Linked DNA regions of Homo sapiens: all the other regions are linked to region 4. Evidence: promoter capture Hi-C in 16 types of primary human blood cells and fetal thymus (Javierre and others, 2016). All regions are on one chromosome and are shown on one strand. Each heading gives the region's core, a stretch centred on a gene start or on the middle of the fragment in contact. The rest is flanking DNA. Distances are from core to core; before and after follow the strand shown.

Region 1 (3,690 bases), core at 885-3,384, 5.5 Mb after region 4:
CACATGGGGTGGAGATGAGCTGTCCCAGAAGAGGTCCCCTTAGGACAATTAGCCTGTTAACTGCTAAACACAAGAGTGAGGCCATCTTAGTTCATCATCTAACCTCAGCTGAGCAAGCCCAGACCAGGAGACTTGGCCAACTGTGAGAAACAATAAATGTTTATTTTAAGCTATTAAGATTTGAGGTAGCTTGTTTTGCTGCAAAAGCTCATACAAAATTACCATCTGACTAAGAGAAAGGAAGAAAAGGACTATTCTTCATGGATTAAGAGGGCTCTCTTTGCATTATTTTCCAAATGTAAAACTAACGCTTATTAACTAGTAACTTCTCTTTAACAGAAGTTCTTCTTTAGCATTTTGGTCAAAATTACCTTTTCCAGGATGCTTTCTTTCTGCTGTTCTTTGAAATCTTCTTTTTTGACTTTGAAGGACTTATACAACAGCTCTAGCTTTGTAGGATCTGCCTGTAGATGCACTTCAGATCCCTTGTCATAGGCTTCCCATGCAAACACTAGAGTAATTCAAAACATCTTAGTGAGTTGGCAGCTGCATTACTGTATGCTTCTTGAAAACAAGCTTTAAACAATCCCAAACGTCTTATGAGCTGATATAAAATGGCTTGACATAGAGGAAACACTTACACTGTGTCTGAGCCATTGAAATGGTATCTCCTGTGTACCTAACAAAGTTATCTCCAGCATAACTCACTCTGTAAATACAAATAAAGAAAATGTTTCAGAGATTGATTTAAGGAAAATTAATTCGTAAAACTGAATCTGAATTAAAATGAACACCATCTATGGTCAGGTCAGAAAACAATTAACTTTCTCTCATCTTAAAATCTGTACATTTAACTTGATACTTACTCATCTGGATTCTTTCCTGCATTGGCATAAGGATTCTCTCTCATTGCTCTAGTTTTTGGATCATAGTAGGCAGAATTTGGATCTAAATTCCTCAAATACTAGAAGAAAAAAATATTTAAAGAATTAATGTTTACTCACAGCAAAAAGATTTCAGCAGACTAGTTGGAGGAGTTGAACATGATCAATTAAATAAATGTGTGTATACATTTCTGGGGTTCAGGTGAAGAGAAAAAACAGAATGAAACCTTATCTTAGAATGACTCTGACTATATTATCCATATGCTACCCAGAGTCGATAAAATTTATGCTGGGAAGACAAGTATTTTTCAAATATGTATGTTAAGCTGACAAGACTTACTTTTGCAATATCTTCTCGAATCCTGAGATTCCGGACAGTAATTCGTCTCTTGGAGTCAAAATTCTGTCCAGGCATGTCAATATCATCTGCATATTTATCTTCATCCTCATCTTCACTATTATGATCTTTTTCCTAAAAGAGGGAGAGGAAGGAAAAGTAAGAAGAAAAGAAAGCAGCATGTAGTTCTTTTTTTTCCCCTTTCCCTTTAACCAAACCCTTATTTACTTGTGTTCTTTAAAAGCTATTATTAGTGTTATTTATTATTAGCCATCAGAAATTTAAAAATTTAACATATACTCAGAGACAGCAAATATGTATTACCATCTGAGAATTTGGTTCCTCTTCTCCCCACTGGTGTTTTGGAGAATTCTGCATCATGAAAGAAGAAAAATCATTCATAATCTCATTCCACTTAATCCAATTAACTTTATTATTAAGATAATAAAGTATTATTATCTTATTATAAATAATATATTTATATAATAAAATATATTTTATTATATATTATATTTATATTATATATAATAAATATTTATTATATAATATATAATATGTAACTTATAAATAAGTATTAAGATAATAAAACTTAATTCTAACTGAACAAACTCTCACACTTCTCAGTTATAATGAGCGCAAAAATTCTGAATACAAGAGTGCCATTGTAAATAATTTTATTACACTGTCTATAAAGCCAGCAAATTTCAAGAGAATTTTAATTAAGATTATAACCACAAAATGGTAACAGAAAGATTAAGATGTCCAAAGTACCCAATAAATATTAATTTCTAAATGTGTTAGTCTTCAGACATACTGTATTCATTAAACGTTACTAGTTTCCTAGTAAGTCCAAAAAGAAAATATTACTGGGTTCATGTCTTCACAGCCAAAGTGAAGTTTGGGCAATGAAAAAAATCTACAAGTGACACAGTATTGTAATTTAAGGAGAGGCCAAACTCCTTGTCACAAGGATACACTTTTCTTCGCTAGCAATTGGTCAGAATACTTTCTAACTCCACAGAATGCCTACACTAACGTGGTATTTCATCATGTCCCTTCATAAAGGCTTCAAAGATTAAAAATACTTAAAAAAAAAGAGAATACATTATAGCATTAGTGAGGAGATGCAGAAACACGTGTATGTATATATACTATATAGATGGAAGCATAAATCTGCATGGCTTTTCTGAATGATGGCTAAGTGATATGTCATAAAAATTTTAGAAATACAAACTCACTGAAATACACTTCTAGAAGGTTATCCTAGTATCATGTCAATTATATAAAGATGTATAAGAATGTGATGTGCAGTGTTGTATATGTGCAATGTTTTTTCAAAACACTGGGAAAAAATCAAATTAATAGATCACTGGTTATATAATGTATTGCACTCCATGGAACACTGAACGGCCATTAAAAGTGATTCTATCCAAGGGGCAGAAAAGTATGTATCGTTTCCTAACTTTTTTGATTAAAAAAAGGGGAGGGGAGAGACAGATAGGATAAGGGTATATATTTGTATTTGTATTTATTCAAGACAGTCTGAAAGGAGCCACACACATACACAAAAGAGTTGGGGCGAGGGGAAGTTTAGTGTTAGGGTGGATAGAAACAGGGGTGGAGAGACTTCGCTGTGCATCTTCTTAAATTGTTTTAATTTTTGAGCCATGTGAATTCATACAAAAATAAATGATGCTATAGGTCTATAAATATAGACAGAAAACACGTTCCCACTGTACTCTATGTTGTTAAATTAAAAAAGAAGGTAATAAATGAATATATAAAGATGGATTCATGTAAGAAACATTTTGTATTCTAGCACACATGAACAGGTATATGTGGACAAGAGAGACCTGGAAAGGCCTACTTCAAAATGTTCACAATTAACACAGGGATATTTTCTTTTTTATATTATGTTCTAATTTTTTTCCACTTAATATGTGTTACTTTCAAAATTAGAAATATAAATATTTTGTAAAAAATAATTTTTTTGAGTTCCCACTATTTGCTAGTTCACCAAAGACATTTACATACATTTCTATAGTGACAGCTAAGTCTCTAAATCTACTGTATGTGGTTCATCTTAATATCCAAGCATCCTGGGAGCGGGGAGAGATAGCATTAGGAGATATACCTAATGCTAAATGACGAGTTCATGGGTGCAGCACACCAACATGGCACATGTATACATACGTAACAAACCTGCACGTTGTGCACATGTACCCTAAAACTTAAAGTATATAAAAAAAAAATAATCCAAGCATCCAAGTGGGCAAAAATCATTAGCCCCTTACATACATTAAGTATCCTTACTGGGGAAATAAATTACATTACGTTTACAACAAACAACAGAGAATACATTAGAACAAAAGAAACAGGCCCTTTTTCTTTTCCCAAAGTTAGTAATAAATAAAAATAATCACAACAATAATAGCTACTAATTACCCAGTGTTTACTATGTGATATGTA
Region 2 (3,712 bases), core at 262-2,761, 5.2 Mb after region 4:
AAAAAAAATAAAAAAAATAAAAAATTATCTTCTGGAATTAGATCACCTGCTCCCAGACCAAGGCTGTGATGGGTAACTAATGACAAATATGTCATTTGTCATCTCTGCCTCTGCCTCTGTGTGTGTGTGTGTGTGTCAGTCAGTAGTTCTGAATGTATCATGTATAGGGGGAACTCTCTGAGAATCTGCTAAAAAGTTATTTTGTGCATATTATATGATTTTTTTTTTTGAGACAGAGTCTTGCTCTGTCACCCAGTTTAGAGTGCAGTGGTGTGATCTCAGCTCACTGCAACCTCCAGCCCCTGGGTTCAAGTGATTCTCACGCCTCAGCCTCCCGAGTAGCTGGGATTATAGGTGCTTGCTACCGCGCCTGGATAATTTTTGTATTTTGTATTTTTAGTAGAAACAGGGTTCCACCATGTTGGCCAGGCTGGTCTTGAATTCCTGACCTCAAGTGATCTGCCCACCTTGGCCTCCCAAAGTGCTGGGATTACAGACATGAGCCACTGTACCTGACCGATACTATTTATATATGGTACAAAACCAAACAAAACAAATTTATGCTGTTTGAAGTCGGGATGGGGGTTACTCTTGATAGGAGATGATGGGGAGCAGCACAGCTAGTGACGGAAAGAGAATATGAATGGTGCTTTCTGGGGTTCTGATAATTTCTGATTCTTGATCTGGGTACTGGATACACAAGTATGTTCAGCTTGTAATGATTCATCAAGCTCTGCACTTACGTGTACTTTTCTGTAAGTAAATTTATATCAGTTATCTATATCTGCTAGTGGTATTAGTGTCTTAACAACATACATTTATTTCATCACCATGCTCAGAGTGAGAAACCTAGGCAAGGCTTAACTAAGTCCTCTCTCTTCTTTTTTTTTTTTCCTGAGACGGATTCTCGCTCTGTCACCCAGGCTGGAGTGCAGTGGCACGATCTCGGCTCACTGCAAGCTCTGCCTCCTGGGCTCATGCCATTCTCCTGCCTCAGCCTTCCAAGTAGCTGGGACTAAAGGTGCCCGCCACAATGCCTGGCTAATTTTTTTGTATTTTTAGTAGAGACAGGGTTTCACCATCTTAGCCAGGATGGTCTCGATCTCCTGACCTTGTGATCCACCTGCCTCAGCCTCCCAAAGTGCTAGGATTACAGGCATGAGCCACTGTGCCCAGCAAAATCCTCTCTTTCAGTCTCTCACAAGGCTACATATCAAGGTGTCAGCTGGGGGTGTGGTTTCATCTGAAAGCTTAACTAGGGAAGGATCCATATGATGATTAATTTTACGTACCAGTTTGACTGAGCCAAGGGGTACCCAGATTAAACCATATTTCTGGGGTGTTGAGAGAATGTTTCTAGATGAGATTAGCATTTGAATCAGTGGACTCAGTAAAGTGGATGGCCCTCAGCAGTGTGGGTGGGCATCATCCAATCTGTTGAGAGGCTGAATAGAGCAAAAGGCAGAGGAAGAAGGAATTCACTTCTTTTGCTGCCTGCCTGCCTGCCTGTTGGAGCTGGAACATTAGTCTGCTCCTGTCCTTGTACTGGGATGTACATCATCAACTCCCCAGATTCTCAGGCATTTGGACCTGGACTGGAATAACACCAGGCTTTCTTGGGTCCCCAGCTTGCACATGGCAGTTTACGCAACTTCTCAGCCTCCACAATCAAGTGATCCAATTCCTTATGATAAATTTCTTCCAAAATATTTATATTTGGGCATATGTATTTTGAAAGTCCATTTCCAAGGTAACTCACATTTTCATCTACAGCAAGCTTGTTCAACCAGCGGCCCATGGGCCACACGCAGCCTAACGCAAATTTGTAAACTTTCCTAAAACGTTATGAGATTTTTTTTGTGGTGTTTTTTGTTGTTGTTGTTGTTGTTGTTGTTGTTGTCGTTGTTCTTCAGCTTTTGTTAGTGTAGTGTATTTTATGTGTGGCCCAATTCTTCTTCTTCCAGTGTGGCCCAGGGAAGCCAAAAGATTGGACACCCCTGATTTATAGGATTCAGTTCCTTGGTGGCTGTTGACCAGAGGCTGCCCTCAACTAATTGCCACGTGGGTCTGCTCCATAGGACAGCTCAAAACATGCAACTTGCTTTGTCAGAGTAAGCATACAAGAAGAGCCAGAGGAAAAATTGGTGTAAGCAAGAAAGAAGTCGCAGTATTTTGTCGTGTGATCTCAGAAGAGGCATCCCAGCACTTTTGCTGCACTCTGTTCAGAAGCAAGTCACCAGGTCCAGCTATTTACAAGGAGAGAGGATTCCACAAGGGCATGTATGCCAAGAGGCAGGGATCACTGAGAGCAATTTCAGAAACTGATACCACACAACTTAAAAGTTTGAAGAAATGAAAACAAAAGATTTCAAATGGGCTGGGCACGGTGACTCATGCTTGTAATCCCAGCACTTTGGGAGGCTGAGGCAGGCAGATGACCTCAGATCAGGAGTTCGAGACCAGCCTGGCCAACATGGTGAAACCCCATCTCTACTAAAAATGCAAAAATTAACCAGGCGTGGTGGTGGGCGCATGTAATCCCAGCTACTGAGAGGCTGAGGCAGGAGAACCGCTTGAACCCAGGAAGCAGAGGTTGTGGCGAGCCAAGATCACGCCATTGCACTCCCGCCTGGGCAACAAGAGCGAAACTCCATCTCAAATAAATAAATAAATAAATAAATAAATAAATAAATAAAACTTCCTGCTCTATATGGATACCACACATCCCTTACCACCTGCTTCTGATAACAGATTCTCACTTCACACCACAGGTGAAAGAGCCATCATATTACAAAGGTAAATTTCAATATTAAGGACAATCTCCATAATAAGAGCCAACATTAATCCAGCCATTTATGAGCACTATGTGTCAGGCAGAGACAGCCACCAGATGAGCTTGGGGGAATCAAGTAATAAAATGTGGGTCCTATCCTGAAACATTTTGCCCATAGTCTTCGGGTGTCCTTTCACACAGCTCCCCCTTTTTCTTTGTATATTCCTAACAATTCCCATGTCAACATAATTCCTCAAAAATTGACCCCACAGGCACCACTGTGGAGGGGGTGGTTCTAGGTGAACCATTTGGTTTGCCTGGGACTGAGGGGTTTCCTGGCATGCAGGACTTTCAGTGTTAAAAGTGGGATGCTGCTGGGTGCGGTGGTTCACGCCTATAATCCCAGCACTTTGGGAGGCCAAGGCAGGCAGATCACGAGGTCAGGAGTTCGAGACCATCCTGGCCAACATGGTGAAACACCGTCTCTACCAAAAATACAAAAAAATTAGCCGGTGTGGTGGCACATGCCTGTAGCCCCAGCTACGTGGGAGGCTGAGGCAGGAGAATCCCTTGAACCCGGGAGGCAGAGGTTGCAGTGAGCCGAGATCATGCCACTGCACTCCAGCCTCACAATAGAGTGAGATTCCGTCTCAAAAAAAAAAAAGTGGGCCAGGCTTGGTGGCTCACGCCTTTACGTAATCCCAGCACTTTGGGAGGCCAAGGCGGGCAGATCACAAGGTCAGGAGATCGAGACCATCCTGGCTAACACAGTGAAACTCCGTCTCTACTAAAAATATTTTTTAAAAAAATTAGCCAGGCGTGGTGGCGGAAGCTTGTAGTCCCAGCTACTCGGGAGGCTAGGGCAGGAGAATGGCGTGAACCCGGGAGGCAGAGCTTGCAGTGAGCCAAGACCGCGCCACTGCACTCCAGCCTGGGCGA
Region 3 (3,626 bases), core at 598-3,097, 5.5 Mb after region 4:
ATTTTTGATTGACAGCTAATGTCTATGTTGATATGGACAATGACTCAAGGATTTGCAGAAATTTTAATAAGAGATTCCTGTTTTCTAGATCTGTTGCAGTCTCCTTCAAGCATTCTGTCGACCCTGGATGTTGAATTGCCACCTGTTTGCTGTGACATAGATATTTAAATTTCTTAGTGCTTCAGAGTTTGTGTGTATTTGTATTAATAAAGCATTCTTTAACAGATTCTTCCTAGTATTGTGGTTGCTTTTCCATGGAGGTTACTTAAAATAACATGAAAGCTAGCTGAGGTGTTTAACAAAGAGTCTATAATGTGACAATAGAGATTTGTCTGATGTCTAAAAACTTAAATCTTTTTGGTTTAACAGCTTATTTTAGAAGCTGCCACTGTTTTTTCCTGAAAAGTATACCCCTCAATGTGTACTTTATTGACTTTTTGTGGCCATTAACTAGTGACAGTTATTAGATCTCTTAATTAGAAGAGCTACTTCCAACTCATTAAGTATCTATTGCTGGGCATTCTTTATTGCCGGTTCTACTTAGTTTCTAATGACTTTAATACTCAGTATTGAAAGGCTCTAAATCTGAGAATTCAGCCTCCTTGGGATCTTCAATTAGATTCCTTAAAGATCACTGGAGATAATTTACTGATAGTAAGGTCTACACTCCACCTATAGGAAACTGTATTTAGTTGTTTACCTTGTGTTGGACATGAGTATTTGAGAAGCATTATTATGTTTAATGTTTGACACTTTCCCAGGTAAGACAATGAAGCGCAGAAGTTCATTGATTTGTCAAAGATGTGAAGAGCTAGAAAATTATTAGAGCTGGTATTTTGATCTCAGTTCTGAGGTTGGAATCAAAATAGAGATGGCAAATGGTTGCTCATAGGTTTTCTTTTTGAGGGAGGGGGTGGATATTTTAAAAACCTTAATCATTTCCACTATTTAAAATTCCAGTGTTTCACCAATCTGGCTTTGGAGATTCTCTTGAAAAGAGATGTGTCCATAGTAGACCCTGTTTCCAACACTTGCTGGGGCTGGAGGTAGATTGCAGGCTGCTGCCTTTTAGGTGGAGTATAGGCTTTCTATCCCACAGACCCTGCCTTAAATGGCCTCAGTGAGAACTGAAGTGATCCTTTTACCTTTCATGTCTCTTCTGAGACCTAGCCTACTTAACTCACTTTACTCGCTTGGGCCATGTAGTAACCTGAATTTGACCCTTGCTTGATGCTAAGTTATATAAGAAGTCTTTCCCTTGATATATCAGTAGCTTCTATGGTCAAGTTAGAATGTGAACACTTTGCCATTGTCATTGGAGGAAGCTGAAGGATATTAGGCATGAAATACTAAGAACACCTACAACCGCTTATCCTGACTTTAAAACTTTTTACCTTCTAAATACAACTGAATCAGTGTGACTTTCTGGAATTAGTGGAAAGGCAGACTTCTAGGAGAAGATAATACCATAAGACTACTAGGGCACTTGGCTTTAGGGGAGAGTAATAGGTTTAGCATCCTCAGGTAAAATAGGGCTGCTAAGAAAACCAAAGTATAGGTTGGACACAGTGGCTCACACCAGTAATCCCAGCACTTGAGAGTTTGAGGTGGGAGGACTGCTTGATCCCAGGAGCTTGGGTTCAACCTGGGCCATGTAGTGAGACCCTTGTCTCTCAAAAATTAAAAATAATTAGCCGGGTGTGGTGGCGCATGCCTGTAGTCCTAGTTTCAGGAGGTTGAGGCAGGAGGATTGCTTGAGCCCAGGAGTTCAAGCTTACAACTTGAGTGGCTATAGTCATGCCACTGGGTGGTAAAGTGGGTGGTAGAGTAGCCTGGGTGGTAGAGTGAGATGCTGTCTCACAAAAACAACAAAAAAAGCAAAGTGTAGTTCTGAATGGCTTTCATACTCTGCAACACAAACTGAAGCTTTGGAAAATTGTCTTTTGTGGTAGAGGGAACCAAGGGCTGGGAGCAAGGGGACTAGTCAGTCCCTTACCAGTTAATTGCCGTCCTCTGGGTCAGAACTGAGTATAGAGGGATCTGATCTTTTCATCTGCTGTTAATCAGATTGCAATGTGCATAATGTGTGCTGAGACTGAGAACTTTAAGCAGATGCTCCTCCATTAATACAGATAATTTGCATCTTGTGGGGGTTGTTGCTATTTTGTTCTGACACTTTTTGAAATAAGACAGACTTTATTCATACCTTTACAACTCTGTAAACCTTCTGCATTTCTCTACACTACCTCTGAGCCTGCCTCTCAGGATACTGTACCTTCTTATAGTAGGAGCTAACAGTCAGGAATGCCATTATCTTGCTACCATTTCTTCTTTCTTATTACAAGTTGTATTTTTCTACTTTCCATGCCAGCCATGGATTTTACCTTTTTTCATGCTGGGTATTTTTACATTTCTATTAATATTCTTAAACTTTGTTCTAGAGTATGGGTAAGGTACCTAGAAGCAATTTGATTCATTTGAGACTTGCCTTTAATGTTAGGCATCACCAGAGCAGCATTTAGCCCAGGGCTCATTTCCCCCTACTACTGAAGTGTGAGATGCTTAGGACTCTGCTGCCCCCTGAATTATGAGGTTTTCCTGTCTAGCTGGTGGGAGCAGACACTATTCCCAGCCCTGTGTGGGCTTCAGGAATTCTTCCCTCTGATCTTTTCAGCTATATGGATCAGTGCTCTTCTGAATACTACAGGGAGACCCTCTGCAAATTTCCAGGGTTCTCTCTGTGCAGCTCTCTCCTCTCCAGTGCTCTGCTCTGCAAACTTGGCCTGCCTTGGCCTGACTCTGCTCTGTCTCTTCAACTCAGGAAATTCACTGGGCTCTGCCTGCCTCCCTTTCTTCCCCACTCTGAGGCCTGGAAACTCAAAAGTAGCCAGTAAGGATAGTCATCGGCCTCACCTCACTTATTTCACATTCCTCAGGCATCGCTGTTCTCTGTCGCCTGATGTTCACTCTTTGGGCAGCCCTCATTTCATATATTTTGTCTTGTTTTTTAGTTTCAGGCAGGAGAGTAAATCTGGTCCCTGTTACTCCATCTTGATTGGAATTGAAAGTTCCTTCTAGATATTCCTTTCATTTTTTTTCTTTTTTGAGACGGAGTCTTGCTCTGTCGCCCAGGCTGGAGTGCAGTGGTGCAATCTTGGCTCACTGCAAACTCCACCTCCCGGGTTCATGCCATTCTCCTGCCTCAGCCTCCCGAGTAGCTGGGACTACAGGCGCCCACCACCACGCCCAGCTAATTTTTTTTTTTTTTGTATTTTTAGTAGAGACAGGGTTTCACCGTGTTCGCCAGGATGGTCTCGATCTCCTGACCTCGTGATCTGCCGGCCTTGGCCTCCCAAAGTGCTTGGATTACAGGCGTGAGCCACCATGCCCGGCCTTTTTTTTTTTTTTGAGGTAACATTCACATAAGAAAATTCATTTAAAAATGTACAATTCAGTGGCTTTTAGTTCAGAGTATATGCAACTATCACCACTGTCTAATTTCAGAACACTTTCATCACCCCCAAAAATAAACCCATGCTCATCAAGCACTCATTCCCCACTTCATTTACTTTGGAATGATGTCCCTCTGCCACCAGGATGAAGTCTGAGTTGCTCAGTGTGGCTCA
Region 4 (3,823 bases), core at 1,104-3,603:
AAAAAACAAAAATAAAATAAAATAATAAAATAAGCCGGGTGTGGTGGCAGGCGCCTGTAATCCCAGCTGCTCGGGAGGCTGAGGCAGGAGAATCGCTTGAACCCGGGAGGCGGAAGTTGCTGTGAGCGGAGATCACGCCACTGCACTCTAGCCTGGCCACACAGCGAGACTCCATCTCAAAAAAAAAAAAAAAGTAAAATGCAACAATCCCTAGACAACAAATACTAGGGAGGCTGAGGCAGGAGAATCGCTTGAACCTGGGAGGCGGAAGTTGCAGTGAGCAGAGATTGCGCCACTGCACTCCAGCCTGGGCGACATTGCGAGACTCCATCTCAAATAAAAACAAAACAAAACAAAAAAAGATATGCACAAGAGGCCACTTAACAAAAATATTGTTGTACCTGAGTGAGTTAGAGAAAACGCCACACTTTGAGACGAATTAAGAGTCCATTTGTTTAGCCGGTGGCCAAGAGATGGCTAACGCTCAAAGTTCTCTCAGCCGGAAGAAGAGGCTAGATTTTCTTTTATACTTTGGTTTAGAAAGGGGAGGGGAGTCTAGTTAAAACAATTTTACAGAAATAAAGTAGGCAAAAAGTTAAAAGGATAAATGGTTACAGGAAAGTAAACAGTTCCAGGTGCAGGGGCTTTAAGACTATTTATTACAAGGTGATAGACTGGGGGCTTTGGGTGCTATCAATCAGACGAATTCCTGGGAATTGCGGATATTGCTCGCCACAGTATCTTATCAGTTAATTGCATCTTGGATGTGCTGGGAGTCAGCTTGCACAAGTTAAGTTCTTGAGGAAGGGGCTGCCAGTGAAAGAGCCAAGATGGAGTCTGTCTGGCTCTCTTAGCTAAGCAAGAGTCAATTCAAGTGGAAACAAGGCTAGGTGATCAGAGGAAAAAGGGAGAGTCTAAAAACAGGGTTAGTAAAAACAAGGTTGGGCATTACAATATGGAGTCCGGGAGACAGGCTGGTGTGAGCTGTGATCGAGCCACTGCACTCAAGCCTGGGCAATAGAGTGAGACCCTGTCTCAAAAAAACAAAACAAACAAAAATATGAAAGTACGAATCTGGAATTAAAAAGGGAAAGAACAGTTTCTGCAACTGGGTGGAAATTCTGGCTCTGGGTTCTGGGTACTCAAAGATGAAGGAGAAGCAAATGGAGTGACTCTTGATTTGCTTGATTGAGGGCCAGCTGTGTGAAGGAAGCTGTATGTGGTAAATGGTGTGGAAGAAAGTTTCCTTTCAACTCAAAAATGCTAAAATGCTCAGATTCTGCACTACTCGTGTGTTGCTTGTTTGCATTGGGTATCTGACATTCCTGCATAGGTAGCAAACCGCAATCTGAACTACCTGTTATTCTAATACAGAGGGGTCAAATACATATATTTGAAGGCGTCTAGGGGCACAAATTTGGAGGCACCTAGTCGTAGATTGATCACTGGTTTGCCAGTTGTTAGTTGAGAGACTTTAACATATCCTAAATATGTTTCCTCATTTGAAGAAGGAAAATGATAATCCATGCCTTGTTGGATTGCTGTGAGGAATAAATGAGATTTAGTGAAATACCTGCCTGACATAAGGCAGTAAATGCCAGATGAATATAAACTCATTCTTGAAGGTCAACCAGATTAGTAGGGATTAGGACAGCATACATCATATTTGAACTATTTGCTCTTTAAAAGAGATTTTAGGCTAGGTTTCGTGGCTCATACCTCTAATCCTAGCACTTTGGGAGGCCGAGGAGGGCAGATTGCTTGAGCCCAGGAATTCGAGATCAGCCTGGGCAATTTGGGGAAACTCCTTATCTATAAAAAATACAAAAATTAGCCGGGCGTGGTGATGTGCGCCTGTAGTCACAGCTACTTGGGAGGCTGAGGTAAGAGGGTGGCTTGAGCCCGGGGTCGAGGCTGCAGTGAGACTAGGTCATTGCTACCACACTCCAGCCTAAGCGAGAGAGAGACCCTGTTTCAATAAAATGAAATAAAATAGCTTTCACACTATTTCAACTGATCTTTACAACAAGCTTGTGCCCTAAGGTTAGTCATTTCTGATAAGAAAACTGAGGACCACCGGATTAGGTGGCTTGTTCACGGATTCTGTTCCCCTACTCCTTTCTAGTTTGTGAGTTGGGACTTTAGTTTTTCTGAATCCAGGTGAATTTTCGGAAGCCCACGTGCTTTCGGCCTTTATTAATTAATTCATTCCCAAGCCAGGTTCGCCTGACCACACCTCGAGCGCCGGCCCAGTGCTTGCGATCTTCGTGACGGCACCTGGGGTGTAAGTACTGCTTGTGGGAGAGCCCCACAGGAAATCCAGAGTATTGCGCATGCGTGCTGTCCAGAAGGCGCTTGAACTCGGCGGCTTCCGTAGCGGGAGGGCGAAAGATGGCGGCGGCAGTACTGGGACAGTTGGGTAAGGATTTCTTAGTGGTTAAGCGACAGAAGGGAGTCGAGATGGAATCTGAGTTGACGGCTTGTGTTGATGTTGCAGGTGCGTTATGGATACATAACCTGAGGAGCCGGGGGAAGCTGGCCTTGGGGTGAGTCTCTCGCTTCGGAGTTTCGGAAGGGCCCAAGGCATCTTTAGTATTCTGCCAGTTGGTAACTGAGCGCCTCCGTGCCTAACTGTGTTTTAGGCTCTGGGGTTACTGAGGCGAATGAGACAGCCCGAGTCTCTGCTTTGTCACTCTATTTTTTCTCCACCTTATTGCATAAACTGTACAGGGATCAGGATTACCCATAACCCAAGGGCGATTGTAAATGCGATTTCCGAACGTCTACTGTGATCTTTCTGGACAAGGTTAGACTATTCCATCTCCATATGGAAGCGTCCAACTTTTCAAGTTACCTCTCTGATTACTTGCTTACATGGGCAGGGACCGTGTTGTGGACAACTCTGCTTTACGTCGTACCTGACATTGTGTTTAGCGGTTTATATGCTTTAACTCACTCTCATAACATTCTACGAGTAGGTTCTGCTATACCCGTTTTTCAGACAAGGAAATTGAAGTCCCCAAACGTAAAATAACTTGCCTAAGGCCACTCAGTTGTAGGAAATTTTGAAGCTTTATACCAGAGCATTCTGTAGCCTTAGGACAAAAGCATTCATTAAAGGTTAGGGTAAGTAGTCGCTGTATTTCTCCCCAAAATAAAAAATCGGTATTTGAAAATTGATAATCTGATTGTAAATTTTCTGGTCTGTCCATTTGTTAGCATTGATTTTGGTTTAGTTCATAGGCTTTGCAGACAGATGAGTTGTATATGAATCCATTTTTTAACTGTGATCTTGGAAAAGTTACTTATTCTTAATAAGCTTCAGTTATCACTTTTATGATATGAGCGTTATGTTAGTACCTATCTCTTAGGATTTAAAAAATTTTTTAATTTTTATTTATTTATTTTTTTAGATGAAGTGTTGCTATGTTGCCCATGCTGGTCTCAAACTTAAGGGCTGAAACAATTCTCTTGCCTCAGCCTCCTGAAGTACTGGGATTACAGGCACATGCCATCTATGTAGCTCTAGTAGATTTTAAAAAGGAAATTCAAACAAGATAATGCATATGAAGTATTTAGTATGTTTATGGCATGTGATAATCCCACTCTGAATTCTAGTTGCCATTAATGTTTTTATTATTATAAATTATTACTGAGTTCCCAATTATATTTAACCCTTTTCTAAGTTTTTGGGTCCGAGGGGGATAAAGAGGTGGGCTAAAGAAGAAAATAGGAAGTAGTAGCTCTTAGGATTTGTCTGTACTCTTCTTAGATAATCTTCTATCACTCTTCCCCCAACCATGCTGATTTACTTACTTTTTCT
Region 5 (3,831 bases), core at 496-2,995, 5.1 Mb after region 4:
AGGCACCATATTGAAGCAAAGAACAAGCCCCTTACCAGACGCGAAATCTGCTGGTGCCTTGATCTTGGAATTTCCAGCCCCTAGAGCTGTGCAAAATAAATTTCTATTATTTATAAATTACTGAGTCTGTTATTTTGTTATAGCAACCTGACTAAGACAGGTGGAGAGGACTGCTTTAGATTGGCTGGTCAGGAAAGCCTCTCTGGAGAGGTGGCCTCTCAACAGAGACTTAGGGGAGGGTGGCACTGGGAGCAGCCAAATGTGTGACCGTCTGAGAGGGAAGCATTGCAGACAAAGAGAGCAGTTGAATAAAGCCCTAAAGTAACAACAAGTTTGGTGTTTTGGCATGTTCAAGGAATGGAAGAGCCGATGGCTGAAGCATGATGATTAAGGAAGAGAGTGGGCTGATAGTAGGCAAGGGTCTGATTATGGAATAGTTCCTAAGCCGTAGTAAAGAACTTGAAGTTTTTTCCAAGTGCAGAAGGAAACAGATGGATAATTTTAAGCCAGGGAGAGACGGAAGTTATTTACATTTTAATAAGAGAATTCAGTTCTTATACAGAGAATGGAGGGGTATGAGGATGGAGGAGGGACATGAATAGAACATTTGAGCCCAATTAGGCTCTAATGCAGTAGCCCAGTGAAGATGATAGTAGCTTGAACTGTGGATCTGAAGAGAAGTGTATGATTTTGGGATATATTTCAGAGGTAAAGCAGACCACACATTGCAGTGGATTCGATTGGCGGGATGGAGTGAGACGTTAGAATGATTCCTTGTCTTCAGCTACTGGATGGATGGTGTGGCCTTTATTAATATGAAGAAGATGAAGGAACTTTGAACTTATCCAGGTTCTGGTGATTTAATTCTTTCCTGCAAACAAACATTTTTTATTTGTAAGCCAAAATGCAGATTTAGTCATTTCAATGGGTTTGCTCCCTTTCACTAGTGGTTTGCAAATGGTATTCATTTACATGTACACATAAGGGATCCAAAAGTCTGTTGCTTGGTGAACATGGATTCAGAATGCCTGGTATCTGGGATTTTAAAACATTAGGCTCTGAAAGTTTTAAGGATTATTCTTTAAGGTCATTTTCTCTTTAGGAACCATTATCAAAGCTTAGAAGTTTCAGTTTAGAACAGATGTTATATTTCAGTCTCTTCCCTCTGTCATTTTTCCTAAATTCCACATTACTTAATCTTTTGGATTTCCATGTTTCTGCCACCCTATTGCACCATTTTCATAATCTAATTAATGTTGTGGCTGTGGATGTGTTTGCAGGGAATACTCTCGATTGCTTCCAAAAAGTTCTCAGTAACTTCTTCCATAGTGGCCTGCATAGTCCTGTTAACGTCATGAGCAACCTTTCTGATTTTGTTGTTTCCCTTTTCTTTCATTCTTTTTTTTTTTTTTTTTTTTTTTGAGATGGATATTCCCTCTCTGTTGCCCAAGCTGGAGTGCAGCGGTGCGATCTCTGCTCACTGCAACCTCCGCCTCCCGGATTCAAGCGATTCTCTCTCTGCCTCCCGAGTAGCTGGGGCTACAGGCGTGTGCCACCACACCCAGCTAATTTTTGTATTTTTACTAGAGACTGGGTTTCACCATATTGGCCAGGCTGGTCTCGAACTCACATCATGATCCACCCACCTCGGCCTCCCAAAGTTCTGGGATTATAGGCATGAGCCACTGTGCCCTGCCTCCTGCCTCCCTTTTCTTTCATTTCTTGTTTTCTTTTTGTTGTTGTTGTTTTCTGTTTGTTTATTTTGAGACAGAGTCTTGCCCTGTCGCCCAGACTGGAGTACAGTGGCATGATCTTGGTTCACTGCAACCTCTGCCTCCCAGGTTCAAGTGATTCTCCTGCCTCAGCCTCCCAAGTAGCTGGGATTACAGGTGCCCACCACCACACCCAGCTAATTTTTGTATTTTTAGTAGAGACGGAGTTTCACCATGTTGGCCAGGCTGGTCTCGAACTCCTGACCTCAAGTGATCCGCCCGCCCCAGCCTCCTTTTCTTTCATTTCTAATAGGCATCCTTTGGAACTAAGGTGGTCAGTTTTACCAACTTCTTAGAGTTACCACTGTTGAACTTAATGCTGTCTACAAACGATTAAATCAAATCCTAGAAGGAGCTTAGATTTCTGATCCCAAGTTTGTTTATTTTTATTTTTGTAGAGGCCCTTTCACTTGGCCTCCCAAAGTGCTGGGATTACAGGAATGAACCACCCTGCCTGGCCTGATGCTAAGTTTAAACCAGTGGAAATAAGGGTTGCTTGCTCTAAAACAGGGGTCGTCAACCCCCGGCCATGTACTGATACCAGTCTGTGGCCTGTAAGGAACCCAGCCACACAGCAGGAAGTGAGCAGCAGGCTAGTGAGCGAAGCTTCATCTGTATTTACAGCCACTTCCCATCGCTTGCATTACTGTCTGAGCTCCACCTCATGTCATATCCATGGTAGCATTAGATTCTCGTAGGCTTGTGAACCCTGTTGTGAATTGCACATGCAAGGGATCTGTGTTGCCTGCTCCTTACAAGAATCTAATGCCTGATAGTCTATCACTGTCTCTCATCACCCCCAGGTAGGACCGTCTAGTTGCAGGAAAACAAGCTTAGGGCTCCCACTGATTCTACATTATGGTGAATTGTATAACTATTTGATTATATATTACAGTTTAATAATTATAAAGTACACAATAAATGTAATGTGCTTGAATCATTATGAACACCCCCTTCCCCAAGACCCTAGTCCGTGGAAAAATAGTTCCCCACAAGAGCAGTCCCTGGTGCCAAAAAGGGTAGGGACCGCTGCTCTAAAACATTTGGAAGTTAGTGAGGTGTGTTTACATTATTTGCTGGCAGAAAAGTTAAAATGACGTTCAGTATTTCCTGTGTTTATTAAGAAAGGTCACTTTGTGTAGATCAGTGGTTTCCAGACTTTATTGTGTCTAAGCATCACAGGAAATGTATTAACCATGCACAGCCTGAGAAGTGTCTGACACCACACACCTGTGAGGCAACAACCAGGCATCTGTTTTGTTAGCAAGCCTCCCAGGTAATTTTGATATAGGAAGAACTGTGGCCACACCATGGGAAACAGATCCAGATGGACACAGATGACTAAGCTTCCAAAACAAGAAGTATTGACCTAACCCGTACATTGACTGCATCCAACATCGGAAGAACTGAATAGGAGGTTTTCTTTTACCTACATCCGTTGATCAAGGTCTAAAAACAACTTGTTGGGCCGAATTTAAGCAGTCCTGACATAGAAAATTTATTTCTGTTAAAGATTGAGTTTTGGGAAATAGAATTTTCTGATTTAAGAAACAAGGGACTATTTCCAAGATTAATTCCTCATAGATCAGTCATTTTTTTCCTCAGAAGGATAACACCTACTGAGAGGCAGGTTCTAACTGTGGCTTAGATCCAAAGATCCTCCCTCATGCCTCCCTAGAGGACCTGTAAAGGTGACTTGTGGAAAGAACAGATATGTCTTTATGTATGTAAAGCAAGTGATATCTGATTTCAAAGAAGACAAAACCAAAAGCTTATTTTTTTAATGATAAGGAATTCCCTTCAAAATAATTATAGAACTGATGTCCCTAGCCCTTCCAGTATTTGCATTCCAAGTGTAGTTTTCTTGTCCCACCTAGATAAGACTAAAGCAGAAAGTTTTGTTGCATGTGCCTCCACTTTCCAGCAGTTGAGCAAGTATGTACCTCTCTTTACGCTCTCTTTTACTCCAGCTATTGATCTCTGGGTACTGTGATCCCTGGGTACTGTGCTTGGCATAAAGTGTATGCCGTTTTATTTTGTAGCAATTACTTCACAAAAC

What was found. Contacts are between HindIII fragments. The CHiCAGO score rates a contact against its expected background, and 5 or more counts as called.
Region 1: a fragment that was not itself captured here is called in contact with the fragment with the promoter of MRPL22 in region 4 in 1 of 17 cell types (naive CD8 T cells); the score reaches 6.4 in naive CD8 T cells.
Region 2: a contact is called between a fragment that was not itself captured here and the fragment with the promoter of MRPL22 in region 4, in 1 of 17 cell types (non-activated CD4 T cells). The highest score is 6.5, in non-activated CD4 T cells.
Region 3: a fragment that was not itself captured here is called in contact with the fragment with the promoter of MRPL22 in region 4 in 4 of 17 cell types (total B cells, fetal thymus, activated CD4 T cells and 1 more); the score reaches 10.0 in total B cells.
Region 5: a fragment that was not itself captured here is called in contact with the fragment with the promoter of MRPL22 in region 4 in 1 of 17 cell types (total CD4 T cells); the score reaches 6.1 in total CD4 T cells.

Annotation. Positions count from the first base shown.
Region 1 is chr5:160,407,105-160,410,794 of GRCh38, forward strand. It overlaps SLU7 (spliceosome associated SLU7), which reads right to left. Exons shown (of 16, transcript NM_006425.5): 7 at 1,546-1,593; 8 at 1,225-1,356; 9 at 867-964; 10 at 642-709; 11 at 372-511. Among named protein-coding and RNA genes, the nearest start is that of FAM200C, 8.9 kb to the left of the region's middle. The HindIII fragment of the contact is 3,120 bases long and covers 575-3,690 here.
Region 2 is chr5:160,126,139-160,129,850 of GRCh38, forward strand. No RefSeq gene overlaps it. Among named protein-coding and RNA genes, the nearest start is that of PWWP2A, 8.5 kb to the left of the region's middle. The HindIII fragment of the contact is 527 bases long and covers 1,249-1,775 here.
Region 3 is chr5:160,428,514-160,432,139 of GRCh38, forward strand. PTTG1 (PTTG1 regulator of sister chromatid separation, securin) reads left to right here. Exons shown (of 6, transcript NM_004219.4): 6 at 89-226. The coding sequence ends at 168. Among named protein-coding and RNA genes, the nearest start is that of PTTG1, 8.5 kb to the left of the region's middle. The HindIII fragment of the contact is 153 bases long and covers 1,772-1,924 here.
Region 4 is chr5:154,938,720-154,942,542 of GRCh38, forward strand. It overlaps MRPL22 (mitochondrial ribosomal protein L22), which reads left to right and starts at 2,354. Exons shown (of 7, transcript NM_014180.4): 1 at 2,354-2,419; 2 at 2,498-2,546. The coding sequence starts at 2,392. RefSeq lists an enhancer at 2,294-2,453. The HindIII fragment of the contact is 1,041 bases long and covers 2,029-3,069 here.
Region 5 is chr5:160,018,183-160,022,013 of GRCh38, forward strand. All of the region lies in intron 2 of TTC1 (tetratricopeptide repeat domain 1), which reads left to right. LOC124901124 (a long non-coding RNA gene) reads left to right here. Exons shown (of 2, transcript XR_007059025.1): 1 at 1-849. Among named protein-coding and RNA genes, the nearest start is that of TTC1, 11 kb to the left of the region's middle. The HindIII fragment of the contact is 1,261 bases long and covers 1,116-2,376 here.